Regions from separate parts of the Homo sapiens genome. Here regions 1, 2, 3, 4, 6 and 7 are each linked to region 5. Evidence: promoter capture Hi-C in 16 types of primary human blood cells and fetal thymus (Javierre and others, 2016). All regions are on one chromosome and are shown on one strand. Each heading gives the region's core, a stretch centred on a gene start or on the middle of the fragment in contact. The rest is flanking DNA. Distances are from core to core; before and after follow the strand shown. Region 1 overlaps ETNK2 (ethanolamine kinase 2). Region 2 has its middle 7.9 kb from the start of REN. Region 3 holds the start of ETNK2 (ethanolamine kinase 2). Region 4 holds the start of KISS1 (KiSS-1 metastasis suppressor). Region 5 holds the start of SNRPE (small nuclear ribonucleoprotein polypeptide E). Region 6 overlaps PLEKHA6 (pleckstrin homology domain containing A6). Region 7 overlaps PLEKHA6 (pleckstrin homology domain containing A6).

What was found. Contacts are between HindIII fragments. The CHiCAGO score rates a contact against its expected background, and 5 or more counts as called.
Region 1: a contact is called between a fragment that was not itself captured here and the fragment with the promoter of SNRPE in region 5, in 16 of 17 cell types (neutrophils, M0 macrophages, M1 macrophages and 13 more). The highest score is 27.4, in neutrophils.
Region 2: a contact is called between a fragment that was not itself captured here and the fragment with the promoter of SNRPE in region 5, in 1 of 17 cell types (endothelial precursors). The highest score is 7.2, in endothelial precursors.
Region 3: the fragment with the promoter of ETNK2 here is called in contact with the fragment with the promoter of SNRPE in region 5 in 8 of 17 cell types (endothelial precursors, M2 macrophages, M1 macrophages and 5 more); the score reaches 17.9 in endothelial precursors.
Region 4: a contact is called between the fragment with the promoter of KISS1 here and the fragment with the promoter of SNRPE in region 5, in 5 of 17 cell types (M0 macrophages, endothelial precursors, M2 macrophages and 2 more). The highest score is 8.6, in M0 macrophages.
Region 6: a fragment that was not itself captured here is called in contact with the fragment with the promoter of SNRPE in region 5 in 1 of 17 cell types (endothelial precursors); the score reaches 5.8 in endothelial precursors.
Region 7: a contact is called between a fragment that was not itself captured here and the fragment with the promoter of SNRPE in region 5, in 2 of 17 cell types (endothelial precursors and erythroblasts). The highest score is 5.7, in endothelial precursors.

The regions. Positions count from the first base shown.
Region 1 is chr1:204,130,653-204,134,226 of GRCh38, reverse strand. It overlaps ETNK2 (ethanolamine kinase 2), which reads left to right. Exons shown (of 8, transcript NM_018208.4): 8 at 1,971-3,165. The coding sequence ends at 2,043. Among named protein-coding and RNA genes, the nearest start is that of ERLNC1, 9.0 kb to the left of the region's middle. RefSeq lists enhancers at 2,253-2,788, 2,789-3,325, 3,342-3,574. The HindIII fragment of the contact is 8,100 bases long and covers 1-3,574 here.
Region 2 is chr1:204,172,476-204,175,998 of GRCh38, reverse strand. No RefSeq gene overlaps it. Among named protein-coding and RNA genes, the nearest start is that of REN, 7.9 kb to the right of the region's middle. RefSeq lists a promoter at 1-3,523. The HindIII fragment of the contact is 1,412 bases long and covers 780-2,191 here.
Region 3 is chr1:204,150,165-204,153,742 of GRCh38, reverse strand. ETNK2 (ethanolamine kinase 2) reads left to right here and starts at 1,699. Exons shown (of 8, transcript NM_018208.4): 1 at 1,699-2,148. The coding sequence starts at 1,891. RefSeq lists an enhancer at 1,921-2,620. The HindIII fragment of the contact is 8,626 bases long and covers 1-3,578 here.
Region 4 is chr1:204,193,882-204,197,831 of GRCh38, reverse strand. It overlaps KISS1 (KiSS-1 metastasis suppressor), which reads left to right and starts at 1,341. Exons shown (of 3, transcript NM_002256.4): 1 at 1,341-1,456. The HindIII fragment of the contact is 3,737 bases long and covers 1-1,914 here.
Region 5 is chr1:203,860,239-203,864,191 of GRCh38, reverse strand. SNRPE (small nuclear ribonucleoprotein polypeptide E) reads right to left here and starts at 2,593. Exons shown (of 5, transcript NM_003094.4): 1 at 2,479-2,593; 2 at 1,970-1,996; 3 at 467-529. The coding sequence starts at 2,532. RefSeq lists enhancers at 1,488-2,063, 2,449-2,708, 2,517-2,811. The HindIII fragment of the contact is 9,598 bases long and covers 1-3,953 here.
Region 6 is chr1:204,218,142-204,221,929 of GRCh38, reverse strand. It overlaps PLEKHA6 (pleckstrin homology domain containing A6), which reads left to right. Exons shown (of 23, transcript NM_014935.5): 23 at 1-3,077. Among named protein-coding and RNA genes, the nearest start is that of GOLT1A, 6.0 kb to the right of the region's middle. The HindIII fragment of the contact is 4,983 bases long and covers 1-3,788 here.
Region 7 is chr1:204,352,047-204,355,631 of GRCh38, reverse strand. All of the region lies in intron 1 of PLEKHA6 (pleckstrin homology domain containing A6), which reads left to right. Among named protein-coding and RNA genes, the nearest start is that of PLEKHA6, 6.1 kb to the left of the region's middle. The HindIII fragment of the contact is 1,387 bases long and covers 863-2,249 here.

The DNA.
Region 1 (3,574 bases), core at 1,027-3,526, 270 kb before region 5:
TATCCACAGAGCCTGGTGGTGGATGGGATCGTTGAAAATCAGTCTGAACGACTGTAGGTCTTACCCTCATTTTACAGCAGAGAGGACAGAGGTCCAGAGAGCAGAAGTGACTTGCTGAAGCCATGCAGTGGTTAAGGGTTTACCATGCTGCCTTCTGGTTGGGCGACAGCCCCAGCTACTCCTTCAGTAGCTAGCCGCTGCTTGTGTATCGATGATTCAGGGAGTCCCTGTCCTGTGAGGCTCCTATGTACCTAAGGCCAGGAATCATTTCTCCTTCCATTCTGGTCCAGGGCCTTGCCCTTCTCCTCCTCACCCACCTTCAGCTGAAAGGGAATCACTACCCTGGTTTCAAAGTGTTCACAACTATTAGAGAAATGCAAATGAAGAGCACGGTGAGGCCGGGCGCGGTGGCTCACGCCTGTAATCCCAGCACTTTGGGAGGCTGAGGCGGGTGGATCACGAGGTCAGAAGATCAAGACCATCCTGGCTAACACGGTGAAACCCCGTCTCTACTAAAAATACAAAAAATTAGCCGGGCGTGGTGGCGGGCGCCTGTAGTCCCAGCTACTCAGGAGGCTGAGGCAGGAGAATGGCGTGAACCCGGGAGGCGGAGCTTGCAGTGAGCCGAGATCCCGCCACTGCACTCCAGCCTGGGCGACAGAGCGAGACTCCGTCTCAAAAAAAAAAAAAAATAAAATAAAATAAAATGAAATGATAAAAAAATAAAATTTAATTAAAAAAAAAAGCAAAGCATGGTGAGATGTCGCTTCACACCCATTAGGATGGCTGCTGTTAAAAAACAGAAAATAATAATTGTTGGTAAGGATATGCAGGAATTGGAACCTTTCTGCACCATTGGTAGGAATGTAAAATGGTGAGCTACTATGGAAAACAGTAGGGTGGTTCCTCAAAAAATAAAAATGTAACTACCGTATGATCCAACAATCTCATTTCTCGGTGGGTAGCCAAAATAATTGAAAGCAAACTCTCAAAGAAATATTTATATACCTATGTTCATGGCAACATTATTCTTGGCATAGTAGCCAAGAGATGGAAGCAACCCAGCTGTCTGTCAACAGATGAATGAATGAATAAAATATAGTCTATACATGCAATAGAATATTGGCCTTAAAAACGAAGGAAATGTCACTTGCTACAACGTGGATGAATCTTGAGGACATTACGCTAAATAAGCCAGTCACAAAAAGACAAATATGGTTCTTTAAGAGATAACTAAAGTAGTCAAATCCATAGAAACCAAGTAGAATTGTTGCCAGGGGGTGGGGAGAGGGAGCAATGGGGAGTATTGCTTAATAGGTCTAGTTTCGGTTGTCCAAAAGGAAAAAGTTGTAGATATTCATTTGCACAGCAATGTGAATATACTTAACAATATAGAACGGTAAAAACAAAACTCCAAACAAGCATGTTTGTGGAAGGGTTTCTCTAGTCTGATCTAAGAAGAAAAAAAATGTAGTTGAAGTTAAAAAAAAAATAGGCTGGGCACGGTGGCTCATGCCTGTAATCCCAGTACTTTGGGAGGCCATGGCAGGCGGATTGCTTGAGCTCAGGAGTTCAAGATTAGCCTGGGCAACATGGTGAAACCCTGTCTCTACAAAAAATACAAATATTAGCCAGGTGTGGTGGCGTGCACCTATAATCCCAGCTATTCTGGAGGCTGAGTGGGAGGATCATCAGAGCCCGGGAGGCAGAGGTTGCAGTGAGCCAAGATCATGCCATTGCACTCCAGCCTGGGTGACAGATCCAGACCCTGTCTCAAAATAAATAAATATTAAAAATTTTAAAAAGAAGCAAAAGAAATAATAATACTAATCAGTCTGGGTTGGGGTTGATCTGCTCAGACTTAGATAGGCCTAGAGCCACTGAAAAACTTTTCTCATGATGTCAGCACCCCCAGCAGGGCCCACCTGGCTTTCTTCCTCACACCCAGCTTCCTTCTGTCTTCCCCACAGGTACGCAGTGATCCGATTCAACCAGTACTTCAAGGTGAAGCCTCAAGCGTCAGCCTTGGAGATGCCAAAGTGACCAGCCACCCCATCCCTCCCCTACCCATCTGTCTGGCCAGACCTGTTCTCCAGAGCTCAATTCTGCACTCTGGGATCCACACCCTTGGACAGGGTGGGAGAGGGGACACATGGGTGTCCAGGGAGAAGGCTCTGTCCCTGCCGCCAGACCCCAGTGGTTGCCACTGAAGACCTCATTCTCCTGTCTGGAGGGGCTGATAGGACCCCCTTCCGGGGGTCCCCTTCACCCCACCAGGCTTGGGAGGAAGTGCCTGCAGCCAGGTCCTGAACCATAACCACCCCTGGGAAACACATCATTCCCAGCCTCAGGCCCTGCTGGAATTGGGGCTGCCTTATATGTGTGTTTACCCCTTCCTGGCCTGGGGAAGGAGGCGGGGAGGGCTCCTTTCTACCTCCAGTGCCCTGAGCCTCCAGTCCGTCTCCCCCTGCATGCCCCATGTGGGAGGTGCTGAGCTCCAAACCAGCATCACACCAACTCTGACACATGGATGTACCTATCTTGGTGATGGGTGGGGGCCAAGAATTGAGCATGACATCTTCCCCAGCAGCCACCTCCTCTGAGATCCCTCACCTTCTCCAAACCAGATCCAATCAAACCTCAGCCCGAGGAAACATGCTCCCCAACGTGCTCTCCTGTGCTTCTGTTTTGTCCCCCTGCTGGGGGGACAGGAGAGGGAGTGGTGAGGCCCTGGGCCTCCAGAGCCTGGCTCTGCTTTGTGCTGTGGCTTAGCCGGAGGGGACGTGGCCAAGGGTGAGGTGGCCAAAACCAGAACCAGCAGTCTCCTGCCTTGTTCCCTCCCTGGCCCTCAGGCCCTCCTTCCAGGGATGTCTCTCCAGCTCTACTTTATGTCCTGAAGCTGACCCGAGGTCTTCCTATCTGGAATGACTAGAGGGAGCCAAGAGGATGGGGTGGGGGCCAGGGCCCCCCAGGGCCTATCGTGGGAGAGCCTGGGCAGGATCCCATCAGAAAGGTGCTGACTAAACTGGTTGCCCGGACACTCAACAGCCTCCACCTCCCTTTCTACCCTCACAGCTCCTGGGGCCTTCCTGGCTCTGGCCCAGAAAGTGATTCATTTGTAAATTATCATGGTTTTCTTTCTGCATTAAAATGCTCATTTCCGGACTGCTGTGTCTTGAGTGACAATGGTGAGGAACTGACCCCTGCGTGGGGGCTGAGGGGTGCTGTAACCCCTCCTGATATCCCCCCTCCACCTGGGCTTCATGCTGAAGTCAAGGTAGCCGCCTGCACACATCCTCCTGTGCACCTAGCTCCGAAGGCTCTGGGCAGGGCCCCCTATTTCTCTCACTCAGCTTCTGTGCCTTTGACTCTCTTAGTAGAACCTACCAGTTAAACCCGGTAAAGCACTGCTTAGGGGGAACTAGGCTGTGGATTACAAGGACTTTGGTTGACCCAGGAGATGAACCAGTGACATTCTAAATAGAAGTGCTCAGGACACCTTCCTCGGTCATGTCTGGCTCCCAGCTGTCAGTGGGGTGGGGAAGGGGCTGCTCTGCCTGAGAACAGGCAGGAG
Region 2 (3,523 bases), core at 236-2,735, 310 kb before region 5:
GAGGAGGAGAAGGAAGGAGGGAAGGAGGAGGAAGAAAGAGAAAAACCTCTCACCTGGTCCTCGTTCTCCTCCAGTTATCGTCACCCTCTTTCCCCTTTTTTACTCCTCCACTTTTCAAAATAGCTGCCTACACTATGTTGTCTTCATCTTCTTACTTTCTATCCTAGTCTGTTCAGGCTGCTATTAAAAAATACCATAAACTGGGTAGCTTATAAACCACAGAAACTTATCTCTCACAGTTCTGAAGTCTGAGAAGTTCAAGATCAATGCATTGGCAGATTTGGTGTCTGGCGAGGGCCTTTGTCCTGGTTCATGAGTGGCATCTTCTTGCTGTGGCTCACATGGTGGAAGGGGAAAAAAGAGCTCCCTTGGGCCCCCTTTATAAGGGCATTAATCCCATCAGGACTTAATCACCTCTCCAAAGGTTCATCCTCCTAATACTATTATATTGAGGGTTAGAATTTCAACCTATGAATTTTGGGGGACACAAACATTCACATCGTAGCACTTCCCATCATTCATCAACCCATCCCTGTGTGGACTCCCACCCCTCTGAATCACCAAAACAGCTCCCACTGACAGCACCAGTGGCCCGCATGTCTCCATTTTAACCCAAGTCTCACCTCACCCTGCAGCAGCACCTACTGTCCCTCACCATCTCTCCTTAAACAGTCTCTCCCTGCAACTTCAGAGACACCTGCTGCTCTCCTCCTTCCTCTGTGGCCACTCCTTTGGGGTCTCCTCTGCAGATTCCTCCTCTGCTGCTTGTCCTTAAAGCTTAGAGTCCAGGGCTTTCTTGCTGCTCACCTTCTCCCTGGCTAATTTCATTCATACCTGTCGCATTAATCACCAATTGCAAATAACACATAAATCTTTCACCCGGGTTTATTTATGCACCTGCCATTTGATATCACCCCTGGGATGTCTCAAAGGAGATCCATACTCAACAGTTCCTCAAACTTATGGTCTCTCCAACCCTCTTCCCCTTCTGAAATCCTCGTTCTCTTCCATCACTCTATGTACCCAGAGTGCCTCCAAAAACCAATCTCTTCCTCACTCTCTATATCCGATCTGTCACCAAGTCCTGCAGATTCTATTTCCTAAATTTCTCTCAAATCCATCCAATCTTTTTCATCTTCACCATGCCCAAGTACCCTAGACCAAGCTAGTTCTAGCACCATGACCTCCTAACTGGTATATGCCATGCTATTCTGGACCCATCCCCACTCCTTGCTAGTCCACACTGCAGCCGAAACACATGCAAAACACATCTAATTACAACATTCCCTTCTGTTTTTTTTTCTTTTTTGAGACAAAGTCTCGCTCTTGTTCCCCAGGCTGGAGTGCAATGGCGCAGTCTTGGCTCACTGCAACCTCCACCTCCCGGGTTCAAGGGATTCTCCTGCCTCAGCCTTCAGAGTAGCTGGGATTACAGGTGCCTGCCACCACGCCCAGCTAATTTTTGTATTTTTAGTAGAGACGGGGTTTCCCCATGTTGGCCAGGCTGGTCTTGAACTCCAGACGTCAGGTGATTCGCCCCCCTCGGCCTCCCAAAGTGCTGGGATTACAGGCGTGAGCCACTGCACCTGGCCCATCAGTCCCTTCTTCACCTGTCTGCAAAAACATCTAATTACATTCATTCACTTCTTAATGGGTCAACAGCTTCCCATGGCTCTTAGGGTAAACACAGAACTTCCTAACATGGGATGCAAGAACCTTTATGGTTTGACACTCAGCGCATCTATGTACTGGGTTCTGGGCCACACAGCCTAAACTTACTGTCTGACTCTGGCCCTTATTGCCAGTGGGACCTTGGGCAAGTTACCTTTTGAATCCTCTTGGGCCTCAATGTCCTCATCTGTAAAATAGTGATATAATGCTACAACCTCATATGGTTATTGTGAGAATTAAGTGCATTAAACACCTAGAGTGGTATCTTGCACATAGTAAGTATTCAGTAAGTGTTAGCTCTTTCAGCTCCTGCCTCTGGCCACATGTCTCACCCCGCTCTCTCTCATCTCTCTGTTCTTGATATGTTGGCTTTTTTTGTTTTTATTGACATCATCCTCTCTCCACAGGGCCTTCGCACGTTCTGTTCCTGCTGGGACTCTATTTCTTTGTCTTCAGCTATTCATTGCCAATGCAGCCTTCAGATCACAATGCGAGTATAATTTTGGGTGGGAGGGAAGCTTCCTGGAGTTCCCTGACTGGCACTAGTCATCAGCGCTATTTTATATTTATGCATGATGATAATAATCTATCTCTTCCACAAGACGGTGGGATCCATAAACAAGAGCAGAAACTGTGTTTATTTTTGTGAACTTTGTAACTCCAGCATCTAGCAGAGTGCCTCACATTATAATAAAGGCTCCATGAATATTTGCTAGTAAATGAAAGAGGACTGAAAGAGCAATTTAGGGGTGCTTCATAAATGTTCATTTATTCTGACAAGATACCCCTACCATGAAGGATCTAAAAGTATTCCCCTGTCCCCAAATAATTCCCCCACTCCCAACCACAGTTCCTGAAAAATCACCACTAGGGTCCATCGTTTGGAAAGGGCCTTATCATCTCTGAGGTCAAAACACATTAATTAGCCAAAACATTAGCCACAGAGATGAGCTCCTCTCATTGTCTGTACTGCCCACAGCTGGTGTGGAGCTGGTGTAGAGGGCAGTACCCTGGAGGCACAGAATATTAGAATATTAGGGTATCAGAGCATGAAGACACCCTTGGTGCCATCCAGCCATCTGCTTCACTGTACAGATTTGGAAACTGAGGTCCAAAGAGGAGAAAGGAGGGATCCAACATCACATAGCAAATTTATGGTAGAATGAAGACTAGGATCCAAGTCCCTGACCACCAACCCAGGGCTCTTTGCACTGCCCATTGCAGTTCACTAGTTCATCCACTTAATAAATATTAAGCACCACTGTGGGCAAAAATCATATTCATACATACATAAAGAACTCTGCTGCAAAAGCAGCTAAGTTGGTGCTGTCATAGAAGGGCTTGTAGCCATGCTGTGGAAGCCTACAGCAGAAAGCAGTCAATTCCAGGCTGAGTCAGGGCCTGCTTCATGGAGGAGGGGGTAATATTTGAAGTGGGCCCTAAAAAATAATCAGGGAAAAGCCAAGATAGGCATCTTAGCCTGAATAAATAGCACTCATCCTGGGATTTAGGGACCAGATGTCTGTCTGGGGAGCTGTACTTGACTGCTTGTAAAGCTACAGGGAAAAGGAAATGAGGCAGAGAACCAGGGCCTAAAAGGGAGTTAGAGCCAAGCAGAAAGAGGAGAATAAGTTGGAAGATCAGCTGCCCTACCTCTATTTAGCAGAAGCCAAAACCCTGAAGACTGCCCTTCTCTCCCACCCTTACTAGGTCAACAGAGGATAGACAACCCCCTCCTCCCCCAGCTCCCTGCTTCCAGAGGATTATGTAACCAAATCCAAGCACACACCACTCACCACACAACAGCAAGTAAGCTGAGAGGTAAGGTGTTGGGGCAAAGAAAGCGACCCTA
Region 3 (3,578 bases), core at 450-2,949, 290 kb before region 5:
GGCCAGTGTCTTTTCCAGCTCCATCCTGGAGCTCCAGGACCTTAGGAAGGCAGGCACGACCCCCATTATCTCCTTCACTATCCAATATGGTAGGCACATGTGGCTATTTACACTAAAATTAAAATTAATTAAAATTGAATAAAATCAACCGGGCGCGGTGGCTCACGCCTGTAATCCCAGCACTTTGAGAGGCCGAGGAGGGTGGATCACCTGAGGTCAGGAGTTCAAGACCAGCCTGACCAACATGGAGGAACCCCCGTCTCTACTAAAAATACAAAATTAGCTGGGCGTGGTGGCACATGCCTGTAATCCCAGCTACTCAGGAGGCTGAAGCAGGAGAATCGCTTGAACCCAGGAGGCCGAGGTTGTGGTGAGCAGAGATCACACCATTGCACTCCAGCAGCCTGGGCAACATGAGCGAAATTCTGTCTCAAATAAAAAAATTTTTTTAATAAAATCAACGTGGCTAGTGGTCACTGCATTGGACAGTAGATATAGAACATTTCAATCACTGCAGAAGTTCTGCTAGGCAGAGCTGGATTCTGGACCGCAGTAAGCATAGGAGCCTTGCGGTTGAGAGGTTCCGGGATAGGCCAAAGGGGTAACTGGGAAAATAGGAAAGGGCCCCTTCTCTGAAGGCGCTTTTCTGGGTGGGGCAGTGAGAGATAGTGACTAGTGAGATCCCTGAGGCCTCACTACAACAAATAGGGCTGGCAGCCAACAGAGCCCTGCTCAGAAGGTGGCAGAGAATGACCAAAGGAGAATCTGGCTAGTAGAGGGACTTGCCCCCTGAGCCGGCCTGGCCTCTCTCCATGTCTCCTCCCCACAGCAACCTGCCCCGGGACACCTTGTCACCCCTTCCCCTTCCTTCCCACCCCCAGCCATCACCATGCCTTGCTTTGGCCCTTAGCTGCGCCAGGCATTTGGCTGTCCTCCCCAGGACGCGCGAGGGTCTGTCCACTTCACACCCCGAATGCCAAGCAAAGCACTGGGCTCGGGTACACCGCTGGCCTGCTACCTGGCTCCATTCACACGCTCAGGATGGGAGGGAGGCTTTAACTCAGTCTGGCCCCAAGTCCTGCCCAGGATGTGCCCAAACACTCCAACGCCCTGGCTGTTCAGTGGCCTGCCAGGGGACAGCGCAGTCTGCTGGACTGGCACACTCTCACCCCAACGCTATCACCCAATGTCCCCTCTTCATGCAGTGTGTTTCTGTCGGGGATGGGAGGTTGCCTGGGTGTGGGGGGGGGCTCTCTGCAGGGAAGGACCTTTGAGATGCAGCAGGGGCCGCCCCTGCAGAGCCATTTCCCGGGGTCCGGGGACTGGGGGCACGGAGCAGGGGCACAGAGGGGCGAGCCCAAGCTGACGTCGTGGGAGCAGCGGATCTCTCTATTCCAGGATGAGGTGGGGGCGCAGGACGAGCCCTCCCCCGCCTCCACCCCAGGCTACCGGGAGAGAGCTGGAGTCTCGCGGCCTCGGAGGCCGGGAAGCCAGCCCCGGCGGGGACCCGGGCGGGGCGGAGCCAGCGGAGGCCCCACCCCCGGCGTCACCGGCCCCCAGGGGGGCGTCGCCCCCACCCCGCGCTCCAGGTAGCGGCGGCCTCAGCTGCCGGCGGTGGCTGGCTGAGCTCCCCAGCGGCCCGCGGGCCGGGGCGGGGGCGGGCCGGGGGCGTTCCCGCGGGCCACCGCCCGTGATGTCACAATCGCGGCGGGCCGCGGCGCTCCGGGGTCGGCGGTGGGCGGCGGGCCGCGAGCCGGCGATCGAAGCGGGCAGCTCGCGCCTGAGTCATGGACTTCCCCTGGCCCCTCCTCTACCACTCCCACTCCCTCGCCGGACCCCCCCGCCGGGGCTAGCGTCTGCCGCGGCTCCGAGGGGGTGGGGCTGCTGGGAATGGCTGTGCCCCCTTCGGCCCCTCAGCCGCGCGCGTCCTTTCACCTGAGGAGGCACACGCCTTGCCCGCAGTGCTCATGGGGCATGGAGGAGAAGGCGGCGGCCAGCGCCAGCTGCCGGGAGCCGCCGGGCCCCCCGAGGGCCGCCGCCGTCGCGTACTTCGGCATTTCCGTGGACCCGGACGACATCCTTCCCGGGGCCCTGCGCCTCATCCAGGAGCTGCGGCCGCATTGGAAACCCGAGCAAGTTCGGACCAAGGTAGCGGAGTGGGCGCGGGGCCGAGGATGGGGTCCTGCCAGGGCTGCCAGGGGGATGCGGGGACCCAGTCCTCGCATCCTTCCGGGTGTCAGTCCCAGGGGTGCGCGGCTGCTGCGCAAGAAAGGTTTGGAACGTGGTTTGTGTACGGATTGATTTCGTCGCTACCAAAACTAGGCTCACACCTCCCTTGGCCCTGCACACGCCCCCCTCCTCCCGGGGCTCTTAGGCACGCCTGGTGGCCACCTGCCCACTGTCGGCATGCTGCGTGTGCGGGCCGCACCCCCTGTCGCTGCGTGCTGGTGCCCCTCGCTGACCAGAAGCGCGTACCCAGCCAGCTCTGAAACCTGAGGAGGCGGGAACTTTTAAGAGACCCCCCGCCCCCCCGACCCAGCCATACATGCATACATTGCTGCCCCTTCTCCACCCCATGGTGGGAGCAAATCCTCCAGGCTCTGAGCTGCCCCTGTGGGTCCCAGGAGCCACCCTGTGGAATTCCAGCTAGCACTCAGCTCCTCACCATCGCTGCAGGCTCGGGCTCAGCACCCCCACACAGGCCATCTTCCCCAGCCCCAGCTGGACACAGGTCCCAGGACACACCTGTGGGCAGAGCCACTCACTGAGCCTTAGGCTAACTCCCCAGCTGACTACCTCCAGCCCCGCTGTGGGCTGCCTGTGGAGGAAGGTGCCGAGTGGGGCGCTTGTAGCTTGTGCTGGAATGGTAGCGGCTCCATGCAGACAGGCATTCTGGGGTGGGGTGGGGGCAAAGTTGTGGGGAGGTTCTTAACCAAGTGTGGAGGCTGACAGAACCCGCCCTGGGGATGGAGTAGCGTTTTCAAAATAAAAGGCCCAGTTTGGTATAAGACTGTCAAGGCATCAAGCAGGCCTGAGGTTAATTCCAGCACTGATCTAACGTGCTATCTGCCAGTCCCTCCCCTCTCCTGCCTCAGTTTCCCTACGTAGAATTGGTTCAGATGACCTCTAGGGCCCTCCCAGCTCTGTCACATTGTGCCCCGTAAATTCCATGGTTCCTTTCTCCTCATCACCCTGCTGTCCAGAGAACCTTGCTCGCAGCCCAGTTGTCTCCTGTCTTTTCTGGTAAGGACCTCTGGCCACTAAAGTCCTGGGATGGGTGCCAACCTCAGTACCCTCCTTGTACCTCCACCACTGGATGGGGCAAGGGGTAGAGCAGAGCACACTGCCCGGCACAAGGTGATTGGCAGCTGGTCAGGACATAGTGTTCTGGGCAACTCCCAGCCCTCCCCTGCCACATTCTGGTCCATGATGTTTCTTTCCGTACTGGGGTGGAGGGTAAGGAGCAGCAGGAGGCGTCTACCTCCCAAGTAGTGTGGAAATTTCTCCACTGCCAAATCCCATTCACTAGAGGCACACCCAGGAGTGTGTGGGAGCTAAACCCAAGCTACCATTTTTTT
Region 4 (3,950 bases), core at 92-2,591, 330 kb before region 5:
AGCCCATTAAGACCACCTCCTGCTTCAGGACAGGCCAACGTACACATCATCCCCACAGCGAAGTTTTGGTCTATGAGGGTCAGTGCTGTCCTCATAGGCTATCATTTCTGTCCTGGTGTTTAACAGCCCTAATGGGTGTGATAATAATATGTTTGCAATCCCCTGTTAACAGTAAGCATCAGACAAGTGAGGGGTGCTAACCTGCAGACTGCCGGCATGCTTCTCCAGCATTAGGGGACGACCAGGTTGAGCTTGTGCTGGGAGAGCGTCCTGTCTGAGGGTAGAGACATAGCCCCTGCCTTCAGAGACTCCCAGCCTGATAGAAGAAACAGTCTCTGCCCTGGAGAGCCCCTTGTCCAAGGGTATAGAGAGTTATTGCAGGCTCAAGAAAGAGACAAAAGTCACTTGCGATGCATGCAGTTAGCAAATATCTATTGAGGGCCCTCTCTGTATGTGCCCAGCAATGGAGTGGGTGCCAAGGGTACAGGGGGAAGGGGGCCTGTCCCTGTCCTCAAAGTGCTGTACCTGAGCAGTCACAAAATAGTATGGTGGTGGGTGCCACGAGACAAGAAGGTGGGGCCCCCAAGCAGGCTGTCTGGATGTGCTGCCACCTGGAAGTCCCCTCTCTGCACCCCTGGCACTTCCCAGGTGCATCCACCTTCTGCAGCTCCCATTTCGTCCTCCTTGCTCATAGCTGGTTGCTTACCTAAGGTCTCTGACCAGTCCATAGCCTATTCACCTCAAAACCCTGCGCTGAGGAAGCGCTCAGTGACCGAGGAAAGAAGGGAAGCAGGAAGGAAGGAAAAAGGAGAGAATCTCTGCCACCACCACCCTGTGCCAGTCACAGGGCGCAGTCTAGGAGCCGCCTGGAGACCCACGCTGACCTGGCTTTCCCTCAGAGCTGGGAGCATGGGATGTGAGGAGCCCCTGGGTCAGCCTGTGCCCTTCTCCTCCCCTCTTCCTGTCGTTTTCTACGTCTAATTCAGACTAGGTGTGTCTGTGGCTCTTCGGAGAGGAAACAAGACATTTCACACTGACACTTCTCCCCACCCTCCTCAGATAGCCCATTTCCACGTTGTTTGGGGGCAGGATGGGTCCTCTGGGTGGGAAGAGGGTGTGGAGGATGGAAAGAGCCGGTAAGAAGGAGAAAGTCCCGCCTCGGAGGGCTCGGGTGGGGCAGGAGGAGAGGCTGCCTCCAGTCACAGAGCCCGGAGGCAGAGGCCTCCCAAGGTGCCATGCTCTTCAGGAGGGTCTGAGGAGGAGGGAGGGGCGGCAGAGTGGGCCTGTGCTTGGAGACGTCACCCCGGGCTTTATAAAAGGGATGTGATCAGGGAGCTGGGGAGAACTCTTGAGACCGGGAGCCCAGCTGCCCACCCTCTGGACATTCACCCAGCCAGGTGGTCTCGTCACCTCAGAGGCTCCGCCAGACTCCTGCCCAGGCCAGGACTGAGGCAAGGTAGGCACACTGCAGTGTCCACCCCTGGGAAGGGGGTCTGCCCTGACCTGGGGATGCTCTGGAGGGGAGCAGGGAATCCGTTCTAAGACGGACAGATGCATCCAGGCAGGCAAAGGCAGGGGAGGGAGACACTGATCTTTCCTGTTTACCAGCCTGGCCAGATTATCCTGGGATGCCTGGGCGAATACACTGAGTCGCACTTTATTTGTGAAGCTAACACTCTGGGGATCCCGAGGGCTCTCTCTTGCTGTGGAAGGAATACATGCAATAAATAAATGCTGTGGCTGGAATTAGAGACCACAGACACGCTTGGATGGACCTAGGGAACCGCTCGGGGCTCTTGAGAGCAATGGGGCTCCTCTGAGCAGCTCCCCCCAAATTACAGATGGCAAATACAAGCCTAACCAAGGGCATCTACCTACCCACTAAGAACTAGGGGCCACTTCACTCCAGAAGCTTTCCAACCATGCCTGGAATTTCTGTCACTCACTGGATACAAACCCCCCAGGGTGGAGGGAACCACAAAAATTGTCTACAGCAGGTCGGCCACTCATGGCCCCTTTCCAAATAATTCATTTCTACCATATATGTTAAGTGCCCCGATGGGCTGGGCAGTGGAATCTGTGTGTGTGTGTGTGTGTGTGTGTGTGTGTGTGTGTGATATGTGTGTATGGGTGTATGTGTGTATATGTGTGTGATGTGTGTGCGCATGTGTGGTGTATGTGGTGTATGTGTGTGTATGATGTACGTGTATGGGTGTATGTGTGTATATGTGTGTGGCGTGTGTGTGCATCTGTGGTGTGTAGTGTATGTGTACGGGTGTATGGGTATATATCTGTGTGGTGTGTGTGCATGTGTGGTATGTGTGGTGTATGTGTGTGTATGATGTGTATGTATGGATGTGTGTATGTGTGTGTGTATGTTGTGTGTATGGGTGTATGTGTGTATATGTGTGTGTGGTGTGTGTGCGTGTGTGGTGTGTGTGCATGATGTGTGTGTATAGGTGTATGTGTGTATATGTGTGTGGTGTGTATGCGTGTGTGGTGTGTGTGGCATATGTGTATGTGTGTGTATGGGTGTATGTGTGTGGTGTGTGTGGTGTATGTGTGTGTGTATGATGTGTGTGTATGGGTGTATGCGTGTATATGTGTATGGGTGTGTGCGTATATATGTGTGTGGTGTGTGTGTGCATGTGTGGTGTGTGTGGTGTATGTGTGTGGTGTGGGGGGTGTGTGTGTGTGTGCTGGGGTCAGGCAGAGTTGTCCCATGGCGCACATGGTAAGTGCCATCCACAGTGGGAAGGAGGCACTCGGGGGGAAAGGGGAGCCGGAAGAAAGAGTACCACCCTCCAACCACACAAGCCCACTGCCCTCCTTCCTGGCCCACCACCCTGCTTCCGCACAGAGAACCGGAAATGTACATCTACCCACATTCCTGTCTGGCTCAGACCCCTCCAGGATGAAGCCCCTGCAGGGCCCCTTCCCCCAGCCTTGTCACTAGCTTTCTCTCCATGCAAAGCTCCATCCTCTTGTCTAGCTAGAGGGCCTGAAGTTCCCTTTGCACTCAGCCCCTGCCCTTGCTTCAGCGCCTTAGCACCGTCCTGGGAACACTTTCTGTAAACCTTTCAGCGATTCATGCTCAGAAACAGCTCAAGTGCCACCCCCTGCCAAAAATCTGCCTGGTCCTCCTAGGTTGGGTTCCCCTGGACTCCCATATCCCCTTGTGGATTCACATGCATCCGGTATGTCATTTACAGTGTTATTTTGAAATGATCTGCTGATGAGTTAATTTCTCATGCTAGACTTGAGATCTTGGGGGCAGCAACTCTGTCTTAGCACACCTGTGCACCCCTAGCACCTAGCACAGCACCAGCACCTAGTCGGTGCTCAAGGAGTGATTTCCAAATCAACCCAGACCCTGTGCATCCACGGTCTGAAATGCTTTTACACTATTCTCTCCAATGGATTAATCCTACCTCTACTCCGTGCCCCAGCCCTGGGCCTTAAGGTAAATGCAGAAAGCTGTGGTCTGGGTTTCAACTTGTCACAGTATCAAAGTCTGCAAGGATAAGTAAACTTCTGAGCAGGTGGCTGGTGGCCAATCTGATCCAGGGTTCTTATTTTATAGATGGACCAATGAGGTCTGGAGATGGGGGTGACTTGCTCACATTTCACAGGGAATGAAAGCAGAGCTGGGGCAAGATTCAAGTACTCCTCATTCCATTTCAGGGTTCTTACTCTTTACTCCATGCCTGAGTCCTGCAGGGAGCTGGGTGAGGAATGGGGGGTGGGGGTGTGGGTGCAAGAGCAGAGAGATGCATGGGCCTGAGCCACCATTAGGAGCTGATGGGCACAAAAGGTTCTCATCCCCCAGTCCCCCTTCCCCAGGGAGAGCGGCTCCAGGCTGTGGGTCAGGCCAGGACAATCTTTTTGCTCAGCTGGCATTGCTCCTGCCTCCCCAGCCTTTTGTCTTTAATCGTGTTTGTTGGACAGTC
Region 5 (3,953 bases), core at 1,344-3,843:
ACTTGAGCCTAGGAGTTTGAGACCAGCCTGGGCAACACAGTGAGACCTCATCTCTATAAAAAATAAAAATTTAGCAGGCTGTGATGGTGCACGCTTCTGATCCTAGCTACTTGGGAGGCTGAGGCAGGAGGACTACTTGAGCCCGGGAGGTTGAGGCTGCAACGAGCCATGATTGTGCCACTGCACTCCAGCCTAAGCAACAGAACAAAGCCCTTTCTCAAAAATCAAATACAAATTTTCTTCTCAACATAGACAGAGGAAAGAAAATGAATTAAAAGTTATTTTCCCTATTAAAAACTACCCAATCCTTATCTATCAACAATGAAAAAAGGCTAAACAGCAGCACCTGAAAAACTTTCCTTAGGTTGGATCTTTGACTTTTTATACACTGTTCTGGCTAGACACTTTCTGTTAAGTCTTTTTCTACGACCGAACTGCTATGAGATGAAATCGCCTGGATACTCACAATGATACAGCCTTCTATCCGCATATTCACTTGCTCATAGAGCCACACCTGAATCCGCGATCTCTGAAATAATCATAAAAGTGGAAACGTTAAAAAAAGAAAAATAGGGCCGGGCGCGGTGGCTCACGCCTGTAATCCCAGCACTTTCGGAGGCCGAGGGAGGTGGATCACAAGGTCAAGAGATAGAGACCATCCTCGTTAACATGGTGAAACCCCATCTCTACTAAAAATACAAAAAAAATTAGCTGGGCGTGGTGGCGCACGCCTGTAGTCCCAGCTACTCGGGACGCTGAAGCAGGAGAATCGCTTGAACCCGGGAGGCAGAGGTTGCAGTGAGCTGAGATCGCGCCACTGCACTCCAGCCTGGGCACAGTGAGACTCCGTCTCAAAAAAAAGAAAAGAAAAACAGGCCAGGTGCCTCGATTCACACCGTTCCCATACTTTGGGATGCCAAAGCGGAATAATTCGCTTTGTGGCCAGGTGTTCAATATAAGCCTGCGCAACATTAAGCAAGATCTCCCCGCCCCCCGCCCCCCAAAAAATTGAAGTATACAAAACCTAACCATTTTGGTCAAACGACAAGAGAAATATGGCTCCTAAAAAAATTGTAATGAATGTAAGTCAAAAGTTTTAACTAATTAGCCCATATCTAAGAATTATTCACCAATAATAATAACCTCAAAAAGAATTTTCATTTAATAAGTTCTATATTGGAACTGTATAAGCTAATAATTTTCCTGTGATTTTGGGACTCAATATTTCTTACTGCTTCTGGTCTCAATCTATTAAGAGTGAAAGTTTTTGACAGCATAGCACAAAGCAGTAATTTCTAATGACCAAGGGCTTATCTCCTGCAGCAAAATCCAGTTCCAAAACAAAGCCTTCTCATGTCACACACCTAACAACTAGGACAGGAGCCCTCAATTCAGGTGGTTAAGAATTATTATCACCTGAAATTAATGTTTTTCAGTTGTGTTATCACACTATAAAATTTAAGTTGCTAAAATTTCCCTCAAAGGAAAGCAGCTGCCACTAAACTCCTCTGAAGCTACCCCTTCTCTCTTCCTTTTTTCGTCTTTAAGTTTTCCCACAGGTATTAAACACACCACCTCTTGACATGGTTTAAGTTGGCTGGGTTTTTCTTCCAATGTTTCATCCTAAAGGGGAGAGGTTCCAATGTTCTAGCCATAATCACTACTAACAAAACTACTGATGCCCAAATACCATGGTCAAGTCTGCTAATAATACTTTTTGGAATTAAAAAGTATTTTTGATCTTGCAAAGTAATGGATACAATTCTTTGCATGTTGGGAAGTGGCATGGATACACACCACTTCATCACATTAGTGCTTTCTAAGTACTCCTTCCCCTCAATTACCCTCCAATCTCCAGTTACATCTATTTTTAAATTCTAGAACACAGCGATCGCTCAGGTTAACACAAAAAACTAAATCAGTTCACCTCTTATTTAAAAAGTAGTTACGAAACAAGCAACTTACGTACATTTTGTAAGTATCTGAAGATGAGGTTCTGCACCACAGTGGCTAAGGAAAAAATACAAAAGCAGCATAGACTCTGCTTCCTGAAACAACCGGACGACGCTATTCCCGTCTCACCTTTGTTTACTAAACGCGAGGTCTGGTGCTTACGCAAACAACAAGTGCCCAGCTGGGCATTCGTTACGGGTCTTCTAAAGACTAAAGAACATCCATTCCACTTTCATCCCCCTGGAGTTTCCCAAAACCGTTAACTCCCGTTTTCACTCCGCACCTGAAGTTCTCTTCCCTCCTTTTGCCGCGTCCATTCCTGCATTCCCCACGGCAGGGGTCCCCCCAAGACCACCTCCCCACCATCACGGTTCAACTACCCGCGCTTTCTTCCAGTCTTGGTAGCCCCGGGGGCTCATGGGATGTGGATCCGTACTCCACTATCCCAGGCCTGCCCTCAGCCTGCGCCTTCGCACCCCGTATTCTGACCCGAACCTCCTAGTCCTGACATCCTGCGTAGGATACGATGGGCTGCACCATAACCTTCTGCACTTTCTGACCCTGGCCACGGTACGCCATGGTGGAATTTCACAAAGAGCACACCCGCACGCTGCCTCTGAGAGCAACTTCCGGAATAAAGAACCGGAAGCGGAAGTGTGAAGGTCACGCGGCGGCATGGGCGGCTCCTGGGAAATGCCCCTCTAGCCATGAAGTCACGTTTCTTCGCTGCATGGCCTCCGAGGGAGGCCAAACTGAGGCGTCTGCGCTGTGGAAGGTGGGCCGGTCCTACAGCGCCACCTGGAGGGAGGCGGGAGGAGGTGCCTTCGGTTGTATAGTGGCCGTGGTAGGAGGAGTGCCGTCCTGTCTCCAATTTCTTTTCTTTTTTTTTTTTTGAGGCGAAGTCTCGCTCTGTCGCCCAGGCTGGAGTGCAGTGGCGCGATTTCAGCTCACTGCAACCTCAGCCTCCAGGGTTCAAGCGATTCTCCTGCCTCAGCCTCCCGAGTAGCTGGGACTACAGGCGCCTGCCACCACGTCCGACTAATTTTTTGTGTTTTTAGTAGAGACGGGGTTTCACCATGTTGGCCAGGATGGTCTCGATCTCCTGACCTCATGATCCGCCCGCCTCGGCCTCCCAAAGTGCTGGGATTACAGGCGTAAGCCACCGCGCCCGGCCTGTATCTCCATTTTCTGAGTTAGCTTGAAAAGCCAAAATCGTCCCAGTGTGTATCTCTATGTGTAAAATGAGTTAATTTCGTGCCTTTCCTAAAGCCTATTTTGCTGGAGTTTAGGCTTGATAGCAGCGTTGTGGTGGAAAGGGTAGGGCGGCAAGGAGCCCAAACTTCAGGCCTCCCACCTCTGGCAGTCGGCCAGAGGCGGTCTGCATTCCAAAGCCAGACGCCTGGTTCCCTCCAGTTACGGATTCAATTCTCATCCATTTCGTGGAGAGTTACTGTTCAGGTGGCAACTGAGGGTGGCGATTTACCAGGAAGACGCTGAAATCCACATGCTGGGCGCAAATCCAGCTCTTTTAGAGTTGGTGACCAAGGATAAATTACTCAGCCTCGCCATGTCTTGGCTTAGTTTCCAAAACGGAGATTATAGTAAAGATTAACTTTACTCAGGGGCTTAAAGATTCAATGAAATAATTGTCTATGTGTGCACACAGTTAGGCGTCAGCCAGTGTCAGAACATGTCCTTCCCTGGATAACACAGCTACTAAGTGGAGCAGCTGGAATTTGTAGGTGTGCCTGACCCCAAAGTCCACCTACCTTTCCATTGTGTCATGGCTTGTGGCCTGGCAGAGATTTCACTTAATTGGCATACACATGTTATAGAGGAGGAAACTGAAGTTTAGACTTTTGAAAGGACTTGCCTAAGGGAACACGGATTAGGGCAAATGGCAGAATCAAAATTAGCTTTTCTGAGGGCTTCTGTTTAATGGGGATAATAGTAATAACGACTTCAGAAAGGGGTTGAGTTGAAAGTGATTTTTAAACTAC
Region 6 (3,788 bases), core at 61-2,560, 360 kb before region 5:
CCCCGGTGGAGCCTTAGGTTAGTGCCCAGTGCAGTGCCAGACTGTCTCCTCTGCTCCTCCCACCTCATCCCTAGGAGGACCCACCAGTGGAGCACATGCAGCCTCAGTGGAGATGCTTGGTGTGGGGATCTGGGTGAAGGGGGTTGAGTAGCGACTGCCTGGGAGATGGCTGTTAGTAGGTCTGTGCCTGGTGTCTGCCTCGCCATCCTGGGGTAAGGGGCAGAGAGAAGGACTTGTCTTATGTAGGGTGTGGTCAGCCTTGGGGCCTTACCTACCCAGTTCCATGATATTTCTTGCCCTGTTCCCCCTGGAATGTGCAGTGGGCCAGCTGAGAGTACGCCTTGAGGAGGGGGGATGAGGCCTTAATCTGGGAGGCCTATCCCCCTATCCCAGGCATCCCAGACGAGGACTGGCTGAGGCTAGGCGCTCTCATGATCCACCTGCCCCGGGAGGGCAGCGGGGAAGACAGAGAAAAGCAAACGCATTCCTCCTCAGCTCCACCCACCTGGAGACGAATGTAGCCAGAGAGGAGGAAGGAGGGAAACTGAAGACACCGTGGCCCCTCGGCCTTCTCTCTGCTAGAGTTGCCGCTCAGAGGCTTCAGCCTGACTTCCAGCGGTCCCAAGAACACCTACTAATTCCTCTGCACTCCTTCATGGCTGGGACAGTTACTGGTTCATATGCAAGTAAAGATGACAATTTACTCAACAAATATTTATCGAGCACCTTTTATGTACCAGGCACTGTTGTAGGTGCTTAGGATATTCTCATGTTTCTGAGGGATTACAGCCTGGGAGGATTCCACCGATCTTCACTTCTAGCAGGTTTTTTAAACGTGACCCTTGGCTGTATTTCCCATCTTCACAGTTCAAGCACCCCAAACCTGCCCTTTCTCCCCTGCAGACTGGCAGGTGGGATTGGCTCCCAGGTCATTTCCTCTCTCTCTCTTTCTCCCAAGCCTTTCTCCCTCCACAGGAAACAGATTTTTCAGGGCCTTCCATGCCTGCCACTTTGTCCGTCTCTTTTTTTTTTTTTAAAGTAATATTTTTTAGAAATACATGTAAAATACCAAGAAATAATGTCTGCGCCTCTGCCACCTCTCTCTCATCTCTTATTTCATAAAGCTGGCTCTTTATGTTGCTTTACATGCCTTAATATATGTTTTATGGAGATTATACATATTATAGATCTATATATGTAATATATTTGTTTGGATGTCTGATCTTTTCCTACAGTTCCTGCCCAGGCCTGTTTTTCTCTCCCTTATTTTCCACATCATTCCTAGCATATCAAGACCATACCCCTTGCCTTTTTGATCCAAAGAAGGGGAGAGGAAAGACTTATTTTAAGACATCTATTTTATGCTTTTGTTTAAAAAAAGCAAATCTATTTTCAAATTGTGCAATGTCTGAATGGAATTGGCAAATGAGGTGAGGAGATGGGGTAACTGCCTTTAGGTCCCAACCCTGTGCCTGTCCCTCTGCCACAGTGGCTTCCTTCCATCCTATTCCCCAGTCACGAAAGGGCTGGTCCCCAGAGCTCACCCAGAAAGCATCTTGCCGGGGGCAGGGCATTCCCTCGGAAGTCCTGGCCTAAGGATTTTATTACACTGTCTGCTCCTGATGACCCTCTGCGGTTGTCAGGCGTGAATCCTCTGGAAGGAACTGTTTGCAGTTGTATGCACAAAGGAGACCCATGCAGGCATGCACCCCAGATGGGCTGCTAGACTACCCCTCTTCATCAGCCTGCTGGAAAGAGCAGACAGCGTAACAGCAGCCTATGCCAAACAGCACTAAGGATGTCAGTGTACGAGACGGTGCGAAGCCCAGAGGAGGCGGCTTGGGATCCTCTGGGCCATCCCTGGCCCTGTAGCACAGACACATACAAGTTCCTTGGACTTGTCACACTCCTTTTCACTTGATCCCTCTCTGGCCTGGGTCACATTTATGACATCCCCCCTCTGCAACCTTTCTCTCTGGGGGCTGTACCAAAGGCATGGTACCTCAGTCTGGTATCCAGACTGTGAAATCAGCCTCTGGGCCAAGGAGGGTCCTACAGACAAGGTGGCATCTCAACCTCACCCAAGAAACCCCCGGGACTTTACCCCAGCAGGCTGCCACTGGGGCACCGAACTAAGCCAGCTCAGCCTTCCAAGCTGCTTAGCCTTTGTCAACCATCAAAGTGGGGAAAGGGTCTCTGGCCTTGCAAGGATTTGGGCAGGATGGAAGTCTTTGTCTAGGTCTGAAATCAAGGGCTTGGGAATCTAGAGCAGAGCTCCTGGCCAGCGTTTGAAGCCTGGCCTCCCACCTGGGGCATTTACTGACACCCTGTCGCCAGCCTAGAACATCCTGCTCTGAATGAACAGAGCCCAGATGGGGGTCCAGAGCTAAGTGACCCACCTGGGGAAGCTCTGATTATTCATCCAGGGCCTTCTCAATGAGCACATTACCTCCATGATCAATAACCAAGAGGCTGCAGTCAAATACTGCTACTGTCACTTTGAAGATTTTCTAAGGGCACAAGTGGCACACTTGCTCTCCGGCCTTTGGGAGAGGCATGTTCTTGGGCAGGGCTGGCTACGGCAAGAGGGAACCAATTCCTTTCCCCTTTAGGCACCCTCTACCTGGCAGCTCTTAAAACTAAGAAAAAATATGATATACACACACATTATATATATATATATATATACACACACACACACACACACACGTATATCTATTTATGCACATATTGGGGCCAATTTGATTTGCTAGTATTAGACAATAAACTGTACAAGGAAATTTATTATCTCAGTGTCTTTATTTAGCATAAAAGTGGCCTTAGAAGAAGGGTGAAGGTTAGATAGATGGAATCTCTGTCAGGGGACAAACAGCTGTAGCATCCCCTTAGCATCTTTCTAGCCAATGAGCCCCCTCCCCAGGAGGAGGGATGGCCTGACTGAAACAGGTGAGAGTTTGCTTCCCCCTTTCAGCAGCATTCTTTTTAGATTTAGGTACTGAAGAATCCCAGTGAGTTCTGCATTTGTATCTTGCAAGTTTGTATAAACCCAATACAGGAAATAAAATGAATGGTTTGTATATGTGGTGTGTGTCTCCTACTCGGTGTCTGCCCTTGTGGTGCTTGTGGGGTTGTGGGGTTGGCAGCTTGTGGGGTTGGCAGGAAAGGGGAATGGGGGCTGGGAGGTAGGCTGGGTGTAAAACATGTGCTCCTTCCTCCCCTGTGCCTCAGCCTGCACTTTTTGGCCTCCATCCCCAGGAGCTGGGGAAGCGAGGGTATGCTACCAACACCAGCATCATCATTTCAGTTCAGGTGACCCCAGATCAGGGTTTGCCCCAAGGTTCTGTATAATGGCAGTATCAGATGCTTCAGGCCCTGGCACCTTCCCTTGGTTTGACTCATACAAAGGACAGGACAGCAGGAGAAGAGAATGAATTCCCAGCCTTTCTTGATTACTACACAATGCGCTATATTGCTGCTTTACAAGAAGTTGTATAATTTGGTGGGAGGTATGAGACCACCCCAGTTCTCATTCTGCCTCCATCCCTTTGGTTTATTTCTCTTGGCAGGTGTTTTGTGGTTATCAGGTATTGACACTCTGTGTGAAGGGCTTTACCAGTGCTTCTCAATTTGGAATCTTACTGTGGGGACCAAGAGTCAAGAAGCCTGGTAAATTTTGTGGGGTGGGTAGTGGAAGAGAAGAGGTGCGCCCGGGAGACTGGCAGGCTCAGCGGGGCTTCTGCATGTTGTCCGAGGGAGGGATGGCTCAAGAAAAAGCGAGAAGGAGAGAT
Region 7 (3,585 bases), core at 307-2,806, 490 kb before region 5:
CCCATCTCTGTTAAAAATATAAAAATTAGCTAAGTGTGGTGCTGGCTTCCTGTAATCCCACGTACCTGGGAGGCTGAGGCAGGAGAATCCATTGAACCCAGGAGGCGGAGGTTGCAGTGAGCCGAGATCGTGCCACTGTACTCCAGCCTGGGTGACAGAACAAGACTCTGTCTCAAAACAAACAAACAAACAAACAAAACGTAGTTATGGGGTCAAACTCAGGTTGAATCTGGAATCTACCATTTACCAGTGATATGATGCTAACAGTGGCTTTACTTCTCTGTGCCTCAGTTTCTCCATTTGTAAAATGAAGATAATGCTACCTATCTCATAAGCTTCTTGTGAAGATAAATGAGGTTACATATGCAAGCACATAGAATCCTGCTGAGCAGAATAAGTGATAAATGTGTTTGTTATTATTACCTTGTTGATTTGCATGAGAAACATAGATATCTGAAGACAGGTATAATCGTCTCTCTCCCTCCAAGCCCTCCCAAGTCTCCTTGTTCAAGACTAAGTGCCCCTGTTCCTCCAAAGACCCTCAAGTTCTTTCTTGAGCTTTCCTGGAGCCCCCACATGAACTGTGGCCTTACTGGCACAGAATGTGGTGAGGTGGCCACACACATGCCCAGGGCAGCCACTTCCTCCAGGAGAATCCCCTGGAATGGCACACTTGCTGGGGGCTTCTTCTGGCAGGTGCATGGCTTATAGGATACTCCACTGGGGCTGGTACTCCTGCAGCCCCTGTCCGCGCCCCTGCACGGCCGTGTGCACATCCTGTCTTGATTTCTCCCTTGTCAAATCTTCCCAGCATTTCTCATTCCCATGAGACCTCTTTGCACTTTCTAAAGTAGCGCAAGCTTATCTGATAAACTAATTATGATCCGTATGTTAGCTCCTGCTGTGGTCATGGAGAGAAGGCTCATCTGGAATTTGAAGACATGGGTTCAAATCCTGACCCAAGTAGTAGCCATATGATTTGTGGAAGTTACTTAATCCTTCTGAGCTTTCACTTCCTAGCCTGAGAACTGGGGTTAGTATCACTACCACCTACCTAGCTGATACCTAGGTGAGTAATGTACATGGAAGTGCTTTGTAAACTGAGAATAATCACACAAATGTCAGTTACTGAACATCATATTTCGGAAGGCAAGGCTTTAACTCAAAGACCAGATGGGTGCTGAGGTGGATTGGTGGGAAATGTTTTTAGGGTAGCTGGTATTCAGGGATACTGTCAAGTCCTCCCAGGTCACCCACTTAGTCTCTGTAAAGGATTGGTCCTCACCGTGTGAATTCAGGAAATAGAGCTGGAGCTGCCAGTGCTGATCTGATAAACATGCATCAGTGCTGAGGCTTCATGGTAGCTGGTCCACCCTGGTTTCAGCTATGTCTTCCTCGGGTTAGTCGGAGCTCCACTTCTGCAGTGAGGTGGCCTAGGGCCCTCTTTAAGGAGGAGGTGAGGTCCCTCCTTAGCTCTGACATCATTGTGTCCCCCCAGTCTGGCTCATCATGATCTGAGAAGAACAGGCATCTATAATTGCAGGTGCCAATTTGCTTTTAATTAGACAAATTCTTGCAATTAGCCTCTTAAATTCTACCTAGCCTCAGGTGGTGCGGTCATTGTTCTGGTTTTGCTTGGTTCCTGGGACCACATGAGCAGCAGTGGGCTATCCAGGGACTGGATCCAGGCTATCCAGCAATCCTGCTAACCTCACTTGAAACTGGGGCTGTCTCACTGGGGAATTGAAGGGGATCGGAGCAGGGAAGAAAAACCTGCTTTGGTGGGGTGGTGCGGGTGGGAGTATGGTGATAGAGGCGTAGTGCTGAGACCTGTTTGAATGACAAGTGAGGTCTAGAACCCAGGTTTCCTCCTCCTAACCCAATGCTTTTCCCCTTCTGAGCCTCAGTATCCTCATCTCTAAAATGGGAATAATAGTTCCCACCCTGCCCTTATCACCAAGGATCAAATGAGTTAGGTGTAGGAAGTAGGTGTGAATATAAAGCAATGCGACCTGAAAGTCCATGATCACATCAAATGTGAAAGCTCTTTAAAGTTCTCCATATGCTCCCGGTGGCCCTGGCCACTGCTTCTTGGACTCTGACCTTCTCAGTCACTTCTCTGCTGTCCAGTAATTCCTGACTCCATTGTCTTCTAATCCTGCCAACTCTCCCCACAACTATGAGTGATTACAGGGCAGTACTTAGCACATAGTAGGTGCTCAACAAATGTTGGTTGGATATATGAAGCTTTGGATGGGAGGGTTAGGCCCCAAGGAGCAGGCACAGAGAAACACTCATGAGAAAGCCTTGGGTGAGGGCAGTGGTGGGGAATTTATTCCCTGTTCTCCTCAGCCTTGCCTCTCACTCCACTGTACTTCTTCAAGGCAAGAGATGGCCTGATTTGTCTTATTTGTATCTGTGATGTTTCACGCAGAGCCAGTCACAAAATGGTTGGTAACTGCTTTTTGATTGGCTGAGTGAATGAGACAGGGTGATGTGGTAGAGACAGCATGGAATTAAGTGGTGGGTAGAACTTGGGAGCCTGGCCCTACCATTTGCTTTGGGTACATACTTACTGCATGCTCCTTATGTACCAGGCAGGTACTAGGTTGCAAAAATGAATTTTTATTTTGATTTATTTATTTTTGAGATGGGGCCTCACTCTGTCCCCCAGGCTGGAATGCAGTGGCATGATCATAGCTCACTGTAGTCTCCACCTCCTAGGCTCATGCAGTCCTCCCACCTCAGCCTCCTGAGTAGCTGGGACCACAGGCATGCACCACCACACCTGGCTGATTATTTTATTTTTTGTAGAGACAGAGTCTCACTTTGTTGCCCAGGCTAGTCTTAAACTCCTGGGCTCAAGTGATCCTCCTGCCTCGGCCTCCCAAAGTATTGGGACTACAGGCGTGAGCCACTGTGACCGGTCAAAAAAAAATTTTTAAACTCACGCTCTTGTAAGGGAGCAGATGAGTGAGCAAACGACCATGCTGTATATGATACAGACATATGCTACATATGTTGGTGGCCAAAAAAGAAAAGGATAGACTCTCCTAGGAGGTTCCCCAAGGCAGAAACCTTAAGCCGGGTCTCAGCTTGGGAAAATTACTTAACCTCTCTGGGTCTCTGTTTCCTAAGCTATCCTGTTAGGAGACTGAAGTCTCCGCAGCGGCAAGGAGTAAATGAAATAAAATAATATGAAGAAAACATGTGGCACTGGATAGTCTTTTTTTCTTTTTTCTTTTCTTTTTTTTTTTGAGACGGAGTCTCGCTCTGTGGCCCAGGCTGGAGTGCAGTGGTGCGATCTTGGCTCACTGCAACCTCTGCCTCCCAGGTTCAAGCAATTCTCCTGCCTCAGCCTCCTGAGTAGCTGGGATTACAAGGCATGCGCCACCATGCCGGGCTAATTTTGGTATTTTTAGTAGAGATGGGGTTTCACCATGTTGGCCAGGCTGGTCTCAAATTCCTGGCCTCAAGTGATCTGTCTGCCTTGGCCTCCGGAAGTGCTGGGGTTACAGGTGTGAGCCACCACACCTGGCCTAAATAATCTTTTTTTTTGAGACAAAGTCTCACTCTGTCACCCAG